Linked DNA regions of Homo sapiens: regions 1 and 3 are each linked to region 2. Evidence: promoter capture Hi-C in human tissues and cell types (Jung and others, 2019). All regions are on one chromosome and are shown on one strand. The core of a region is centred on a gene start or on the middle of the fragment in contact, and the rest is flanking DNA. Distances in the headings are between cores, read along the strand shown.

Region 1 (2,700 bases), core at 78-2,577, 270 kb before region 2:
GAAATGCTATGGAGCCACAAAAAAAAAATGAGATCATGTACTTGGCAGGATCATGGATGGAGTGGAGGCCATTATCTTTGGCAAACTAGTGCAGGAACAGAAAATCAAATACTGTATGTTCTCACATATAAATGGGAGCTAAATGATGACAACACATGGACACATAGAGGGGAACAACACACACTGGGGCTTATTGGAGGGTGGAGGGTGGGAAGAGGGAGAGAATCAGGAAAAATAACTAATGGGTACTAGGCTTAATACCTGGGTGATGAAATAAACCCCCATGACACAAGTTTACCCACGTAACAAACCTGCACATGTACCCCTGAACTTAGAATAAAAGTTAAATATATTAAAAAATCAATAAATCAATGGACTTTGAGTTAAGCAGATCACCCTCCATAATGTTGGGGAGGAACTTCATCTACTCAACTGAAGGCATTAACAGAACAAAAGATTGACCTCTCCTCAGTAAGAGGCAAGTCTGCCAGCAGAATGAAAACATTGGGTCTTCCTGGGTCTTCAGCCTGCCACTGACCCACCCTGCAGATTTTGGGACTGGCCAGCTTCCATAATCATGTGAGCAATTCCTTTAAATAAACCTCTTTCTTTAAAAAAAAAAAAAGCTATTGCAATAATCCATTCACATATTTATCATCACTTGGATCTAATAGCTGTCAGAGTAATGACAACTGGTTAGATTCTGCATACATTTTGAAGGTAAAGCTGACAAACTTAGCTGACCAAATGGACATGAGGGGTTTGAGAGAAAAAGCAATTAAGGATGGGTAGAGATTTTTGGCCTAAATATTTCTCTTTGGAATTACCATATTTTGAAATGAAACCTGTAGGAAGAATAGATTTGGGGCAGTGGGCAAAGATGAATTGATTTTAAACATGTTAAGTGCCTATCTATTACACAATCCAGTCAGTATGTCAAGTAAGCATTTAGATATGTGAATCTGAAGTTCCAGAAAGAGGTCTCAGCTAGTCTCTATCTGAAGATAGAAATTTGTGAATCATCAATGTTAGATGAAATTTAAAGCCGTAAGACTGGATCTGGTCATTTGGGAACTGAGTGTAGATAGAAAAAGGAAGAGGTCCGGGTACCCTGCGTCACTCCAGTATTTAAAGGTCATGGAGGAAGGAAAGAACCTGCAAAGGAGACAGAGGGTAGTAGCCAGTGAGGAAGAACAATCAAGAGAGGAGTCCCAGAGCTGGGCACGGTGACTCATGCCTGTCATCCCAGCTACTCGGGAGTCTGAGGTCGGAGGATTGCTTGAGGCCAGGACTTGAAGACTAGCCTGGGCAACCTAGTGAGACCCTGTCTCTAAAACAGTGAAAAAAAATTGGACATGGTGGCACATGCCTGTATTTCTAGCTACTTGGAATAGCTACTTGGGGTCTGAGGCAGGAGAATCACTTGAGCCCAGGATTTTGAGGCTGCAGTGAGCTATGATTGTGCCACTGCACTCTGGCCAGGGTGACAGAGAGAGACCTTGACTCAAAAAAAAAAAAAAAAAAAAAAAGGTATCCCGTAAGTCAAGTGAGGTAGCGAGGGAGCTGTTTAGCTGTGCCAAATTCTGTTGATAGGTCAGGTAAGATGAGAGGACTGAGAATTGATCATTCTTCTTAGCAATGTGGAGGTTGTTGGTGACCTTGACTAGCAGTTTCTATGGAGGGGTGGCAGTGAAAGTATAATCAGTATGTTCAAGAGAAAAAGCAAGGATTGGAGGTCAGGGAGAATAGACAATATAGAGAATTCTAACAATTTTGTTGTGAAGAGGAACAGAGAAATGGGAAGATGGTGGAGGATGTGGAGTCAAGAGGAATTTTTTTTTTTCTTTTTTTTTGAGACGGAGTCTCGCTCTGTCACCTAGGCTGGAGTGCAGTGGCACCATCTTGGCTCACTGCAACCTCTGCCTCCCGGGTTCAAGCAATTCTCCTGCCTCAGCCTCCTGAGTAGCTGGGATTACAGGCATGCGCCACCACACCTGGCTAATTTCTTATATTTTTGGTAGAGATGGGGTTTCACCACGTTGGCCAAGCTGGTCTTGAGTATCTGACCTCAAGTGAGGTCTGCCCGCCTTGGCCTCCCAACTGCTGGGATTACAGGCGTGAGCCATCTTGCTCGGCTAAGAGGAATTTTCTTCCATGAGAGATATTATAGTATGTTTTTGTTTTCAGGCTTATTGGCATTATTCAGAGGAAATATGAGAAATGGATGATGTGAGAGAGAAAGGAGATAGTTGCCTAAATGAAGAGGTTGAAAGGAGAGATCGTTTATATATTGTGATAGGAAGGCAGTCAGACTATAGGAACAGACACAGGTAGGAAGGTAGGTAGATATATGGTGGGCACTTGTGGCACTTTTCTGTTTGTTACTGCTTCCTATCTGACTACTGCTGTGATCAGATAGGAAGCAAAATTAGGGACAATGAAGAAAGGGGAGATGGGATGAAATAGTTTTTTAGGAGAGTGGTAGAGGGAATAGATTAGGGAAGTGTATTGGCAGCACCAAGGGCTTACTCGGAGTTAGTGGTCAGGAATATAAAATGAGATCATTGAGTGTTATTGTTTTTCTTAGACTAGCTGTGATGGTACAGAGACAGAAGATGTATAAAATATGATTTGGAAGTATGTTAGTGCTGAAATTAGGATATTTTAGTAAATTTACAGAAAACCACCTATGTGAAATAT
Region 2 (2,700 bases), core at 182-2,681:
GAGTGGTTTTGTGGAGGGAAGGAGGTTAGACAGCCTAACCTTGAGACAACCAGAGATCAAAGCAATGTCCTGGATTCTTTAGGTCAGACAGAAAAGAATAAACTACCTTTGAAGAGCTTACATTTTAATGAGGAACTAAAGAAGATTCATGAAGTTGACAAGGATATACAAGTAGAAAGAACTTTCAAAGATTATGGAGTAATTGTGCTAGTGGGAAGGTAGGTTGAGCTATAATATCAGAAACGTTGGTCCTGGTGTGGTCGTGGTTAGGTAGCCTTCAAATTGGTTGCAAGCAGAGCCTTGGTTCTCCAAGAATGAAAGGTAGGGTCTTGAAGAAGGCAGGGTTTGTAAGGCATCCTGCCTCACCTTTTTCCTGCCCTCCTCCACCAGCGGTATCTGACCTCAGAGGCAGAGGAACACCACCAGCTCTTCGATCTGATTGAAAGCATGCTAGAGTATGAACCAGCTAAGCGGCTGACCTTGGGTGAAGCCCTTCAGCATCCTTTCTTCGCCCGCCTTCGGGCTGAGCCGCCCAACAAGTTGTGGGACTCCAGTCGGGATATCAGTCGGTGACGATCAGGCCCTGGGCCCCCCTGCATCTTTTATAGCAGTGGGTGTCCAGTCCAGGACACTGGTGCTTTTTTATACAAGAGAACGAGCCAGAGTTCACTCCTTCCTCCTGGCTCTCTATATACCTGTGAATATGTGAAATAGTGTAAATATGAAAGAACTTGTACCTATCACTTCAACCCCTGCCTTGTACATAATACTATTCCATCCACACAGTTTCCACCCTCACCTGCCCCCTCATACGGAGTTGGATGGGGGCCGAGTGAGGTAACCAGGTGGCATCTACCCCATGTTTTATAAGGAATTTTGTACAGTCTTTGTGAAATAAAATAACGTGCTTCATTTGACCCCCATCCCTGGAGTTGGAGGTTTGGGAATGCTGGGGTGGAGGGATGAAACTATTGGCAAACTTTCTGAGTTTGGGTATGAAGGGAGTCCTCCTTACCCTCCAAAATGAAGCACAGCCAGGCTACCAGTTTATTTCCCCTGTCCACCTTATCATATGGGAGGGTAGTGATGGGTGGGGCAGCATTTCTTTCAGATTAAAACAGAGAAGTGTTATGAGGTGGCACTTCTCGGATGTGGAATTATGAGAGTTGGGAAAGATCTGACTCCTAGAGTCATTAGGCCGCGGCCCAGTATAGAGCCAGAAACTCAGGTTGAAAACGTGCTCAACCTGGCTCCTAGGGGGGATTGCCACGACCGGTCAGAAGGCTCCCGTCGTCCATCTCGGGAGACTAGGAAGGCCGGATTCCTACGCGAGGCCTGCTGGGAAGTGTAGTTCGTTAGTGGAAGGAAGTCACATGGAAGAGGGGCGGTAGTTGGTTGTGGGCACTGGGTTAGAGGTATCACGTGGGGGCACTTTCGTCTTAGCTTTTGGACAAGACGCAGGCGCAACCCACGGCTGCTGCGGGGATCCTTGTGGCCCTTCCGGTCGGTGGAACCAATCCGTGCACAGAGAAGCGGGGCGAACTGAGGCGAGTGAAGTGGACTCTGAGGGCTACCGCTACCGCCACTGCTGCGGCAGGGGCGTGGAGGGCAGAGGGCCGCGGAGGCCGCAGTTGCAAACATGGCTCAGAGCAGAGACGGCGGAAACCCGTTCGCCGAGCCCAGCGAGCTTGACAACCCCTTTCAGGTGACTTGCGCCAGTCGGCCTCTTTTGGGCGGTCAGGTTGATTCTTCCCGGTTCTGTAGGGTCGGGCTAACTTGTATCCCCATTTGTGACATTTGATCCTGGGAAGAGCCGCCACGTGGGGTGACAGTGACTCCAGACCAGTGAGCACTCTGGGGGGCGGGCCCTGCCCCTTAATGGGCTGGTGCTGGCAGTGTTGGATGATGGATTTGAGGTAAATGTTGTCCCAGTCCTGGGACAACGGCGTGGCCCCGAAGGTGCAGTACTTGGAGCCACAGGCAGTTTGGGAATGGTCCCTGGGAATTCCCCTAGGTGGCACTGGGTGCCAGCTGAGACCCGGGTCTCTGCCCTCAGGACCCAGCTGTGATCCAGCACCGACCCAGCCGGCAGTATGCCACGCTTGACGTCTACAACCCTTTTGAGACCCGGGAGGTGAGCTACTGGAGAGCATAGGAGTTCAAGGAAGGGAAGGGTTTGCCAGTGAGACAAGTTAGCTTGGGTACAGGGGACTTTTCTGCATGCACAGGAAGGAAGAGGCACTGTGATCTTAGTTCCCTGAGAGAGGCTAGTCAGCCATGGGATGCCTCATCCTTCTAGGGCCACCAGGGCCACCAACCCAAATGGTTTGAGCTCTAAAAGTCAGTCCTGGGAAGATCTGGAGGCTGGCAAGGCCTTAACCAATGTTCTGTATGGGAAGGCTTTCTTGAAGAAAATAAAGGTTGGGGCTGGTTGGAGTTTAGGTTAGGTGTGCAGTTTGAAAGCAAGGAATGAGGAGGACTACACCTGTTTGTCCCACTGGATTAGAAGATGGTGAGTTGTAAGAATTTAAGGGGTTTTCATGGTACTTAAAACTTAAAAAAAAAAGCCAAGCATGGTGTGCATGCCTGTAATCCCACTTGGGAGGCTGAGGTGGGAGGATTGCTTGAGCCCAGGAATTTGATGGAGACCATCCTGGGCAACAGCGAGACCCCCATCTCTTGAAACGTTTTAAAAATTGG
Region 3 (2,700 bases), core at 135-2,634, 450 kb before region 2:
TCTTTAGTTCTTAAAGTTTTATATATGTTATCACTCAAGTAGACTGTTGTTTCCAGAGAAAACAACCATCTGTACAATTGCCTCTGTACAGTTCCAGAATGAACATCCTGCAGTTTCTGAAAGAGCATTTGTGAGCCAATCTAGAAGATCACCGTGATGGTTAATATTAAGCGTCAACTTGATTGGATTAAAGGCTGTAAAGTATTGTTCCTGGGTGTGTCTGTGAGGGTGTTGCCAAAGGAGATTAACATTTGAGTCAGTGGACTGGGAGACGCAGACCCACCCTCAGTGTGGGTGGACACCATCTAATCACCTGCCAGGGCAGCTAGAATAAAGCAGGCAGAAGAAGGTAGGATGAGCCGACTTGCTGGGTCTTCCAGCCTTCATCTTTCTCCTGAGCTAGATGCTTCCCGCCCTCGAACACTGGACTCCAAGTTCTTCAGCTTTTGGACCCTTGGACTTACAACAGTGATTTGCCAGGGGCTCTCAGGCCTTTAGCCACAGACTGAAGACTGCACTGTCAGCTTCCCTACTTTTGAAGTTTTGGGACTTGGACTGGCTTACTTGCTCCTCAGCTTGCTCACGGCCTACTGTGGGACTTCGCCAGATGGTGTGACTCAATACTCCTTAACAAACTCTCCTTCATATATACTTCTATCCTATTAGTGCTGTCCCTGTAGAGAACCCTGACTAATACAGTCACCCTGAACCAAACTAGTAAAAAAAAAAAAACAAAACTTTCTCTCACCAACAGCACTCTACAGTCTAGCCTCAGGTCTTTGTTGTCTGTTATTAAGAAAGAGGAAATTTTTTTTTTTCTTTTGAGATGGAGTCTCGCTCTATTGCCCAGGCTAGAGTGCAGTGGCGTGATCTTGGCTCACTGCAACCTCTACCTCTTGGGTTCAAGCGATTCTCTTACCTCAGCCTCCCAAGTAGCTGGGATTACAGGCGTGTGCCACCACACGCAGCTAATTTTTGTATTTTTAGTAGAGACGGGGTTTCACTATGTTGGCCAGGCTGGTCTCAAACTGCTGACCTCAGGTGATCTGCCTGCCTCGGCCTCCCAAAGTGCTGGGATTACAGGCATGAGCTACTGTGCCCGGCCGAGAGAGGAAATTTATTTTAGCCTTGTAATATGATCAGTTGAGTCCAGAATCCATCCCTCTGCTGATCCTTGCTTTCGTTTCATTTTATAATAATGGGTTATTTTATGTATTAATATATAGGCCTGAGGGAAGGGGGCACATGCAGGGGGAGCCATATAGGAGGAAGGGCTCCTTTTCTAGGAAATCTAATCTGTAATTAAATAATCAGCTGAAAATGACCAAGTCTTTCTGGCTCAGTTCTGAGCCTTTCAGGATCTCCTGCTGACTCGACTAATCCCGCTCAGGTGCTCCTCTTTGGTGCTGTAAGAGCACCATACTGAAATAGTCATTTTTTCATGATTCTACTGGACTGTAAGCTTCTGGAGAACATGGACCATAAAATGCAATAGAGCACAGTGGTTAGGCCACAGGCTTTGAAGTCAGACAGACCTGGCATCTCGTGTGGGCTTTGCAACCTCACAGGCTATTTCCTCAGGTAAGTTACCTAGCCAGTCTCATCTTTAGTTTCTCCATCTGTGAAACAAGGATATTATCTCGTTCATGGGTTGATCATGAGGATTAAAAAAATAAATCACTTAGTGTAGTACCTGGCACATAATAATACCCAACAAATAATAACTATTATTAGTGAAATGAGGCATCTTAGAATTCTGAGTACCTGCCATATAGAAGGTACTGAAGGCCGGGCACAGTGGCTCACGCCTGTAATCCCAGCACTTTGGGAGGCCTAGGTGGGCAGATCACGAAGTCAGGAGTTCGAGACCAGCCTAGCTAATATGATGAAACACCGTTTCTACTAAAAATACAAAAATTAGCCGGGCATGGTGGCAAGCGCCTGTAGTCCCAGCTATTCGGGAGGCTGAGGCAGAAGAATAGCTTGAACCCAGGAGGCAGAGGTTGCAGTGAGCCGAGATTGCGCCACTGCACACTCCAGCCTGGGCAACAGAGCGAGACTCTGTCTCAAAAAAAAAAAAAAAAAAGTACTGAAAAACTATTTGGTAAATATGTGAAAAAATGAAGTAAACCAGCAGAATGGTCTTTTTCATGTACAATTTTATTTTTTATTCTATTTTAGATGCTAAAGCTGTAAATTGGCAACTTGTTTTTCTTTTAAATACTTCATTAAGGGATGATAACCATTCTCTAGTTGGCTAGAGAAATAAAGTTAATAAAGATAATTACAGTCAAACTTACTTATGTTTTCTGGAAAAATATTAATTCTCCTATTCCATGGTAAATTCTCAAGCACAATTATTCTACTGAAACCTGTTACATATGAAGTTTTCCAGAGCATTTCACTCTAGATACAATGAATCCATCTGAAAACAAGAATCTGGGAACCTAAAGGCAGTATGCACAGAGTGTTCAGGTCAGTCAGGACTCACCTTATGGATCCTAGAGATAAGCCTTGTTATTCCTTTCAGCATCATCCTTGCACTGTTACAAAAAAAAAAAAAGTGAAAAGGTAAACCACAAATGGGAAAAGATGTGTGCAACATGGAAAACTGACAATAGATTAATAGGGATTAATAATCTATATTAATATCTAGAATATATAAAGAATGCCTACAGCTTCATTAAAAAAATGAGCAAA

Evidence for each region. Contacts are between HindIII fragments. The study calls those that stand out against the background at their distance.
Region 1: a contact is called between a fragment that was not itself captured here and the fragment with the promoter of SCAMP3 in region 2, in 1 of the 25 tissues and cell types used here (IMR-90 fibroblasts).
Region 3: a contact is called between a fragment that was not itself captured here and the fragment with the promoter of SCAMP3 in region 2, in 1 of the 25 tissues and cell types used here (lymphoblastoid cells).

What each region holds. Positions count from the first base shown.
Region 1 is chr1:155,526,361-155,529,060 of GRCh38, reverse strand. All of the region lies in intron 1 of ASH1L (ASH1 like histone lysine methyltransferase), which reads left to right. Among named protein-coding and RNA genes, the nearest start is that of ASH1L-AS1, 34 kb to the left of the region's middle. The HindIII fragment of the contact is 7,904 bases long and covers 1-2,700 here.
Region 2 is chr1:155,261,091-155,263,790 of GRCh38, reverse strand. SCAMP3 (secretory carrier membrane protein 3) reads left to right here and starts at 1,431. Exons shown (of 9, transcript NM_005698.4): 1 at 1,431-1,705; 2 at 2,057-2,134. The coding sequence starts at 1,640. CLK2 (CDC like kinase 2) reads left to right here. Exons shown (of 13, transcript NM_001294338.2): 13 at 391-923. The coding sequence ends at 573. The HindIII fragment of the contact is 10,284 bases long and covers 1-2,700 here.
Region 3 is chr1:155,709,616-155,712,315 of GRCh38, reverse strand. DAP3 (death associated protein 3) reads right to left here. Exons shown (of 13, transcript NM_004632.4): 2 at 2,492-2,543. The coding sequence starts at 2,536. Among named protein-coding and RNA genes, the nearest start is that of DAP3, 22 kb to the right of the region's middle. The HindIII fragment of the contact is 3,221 bases long and covers 1-2,700 here.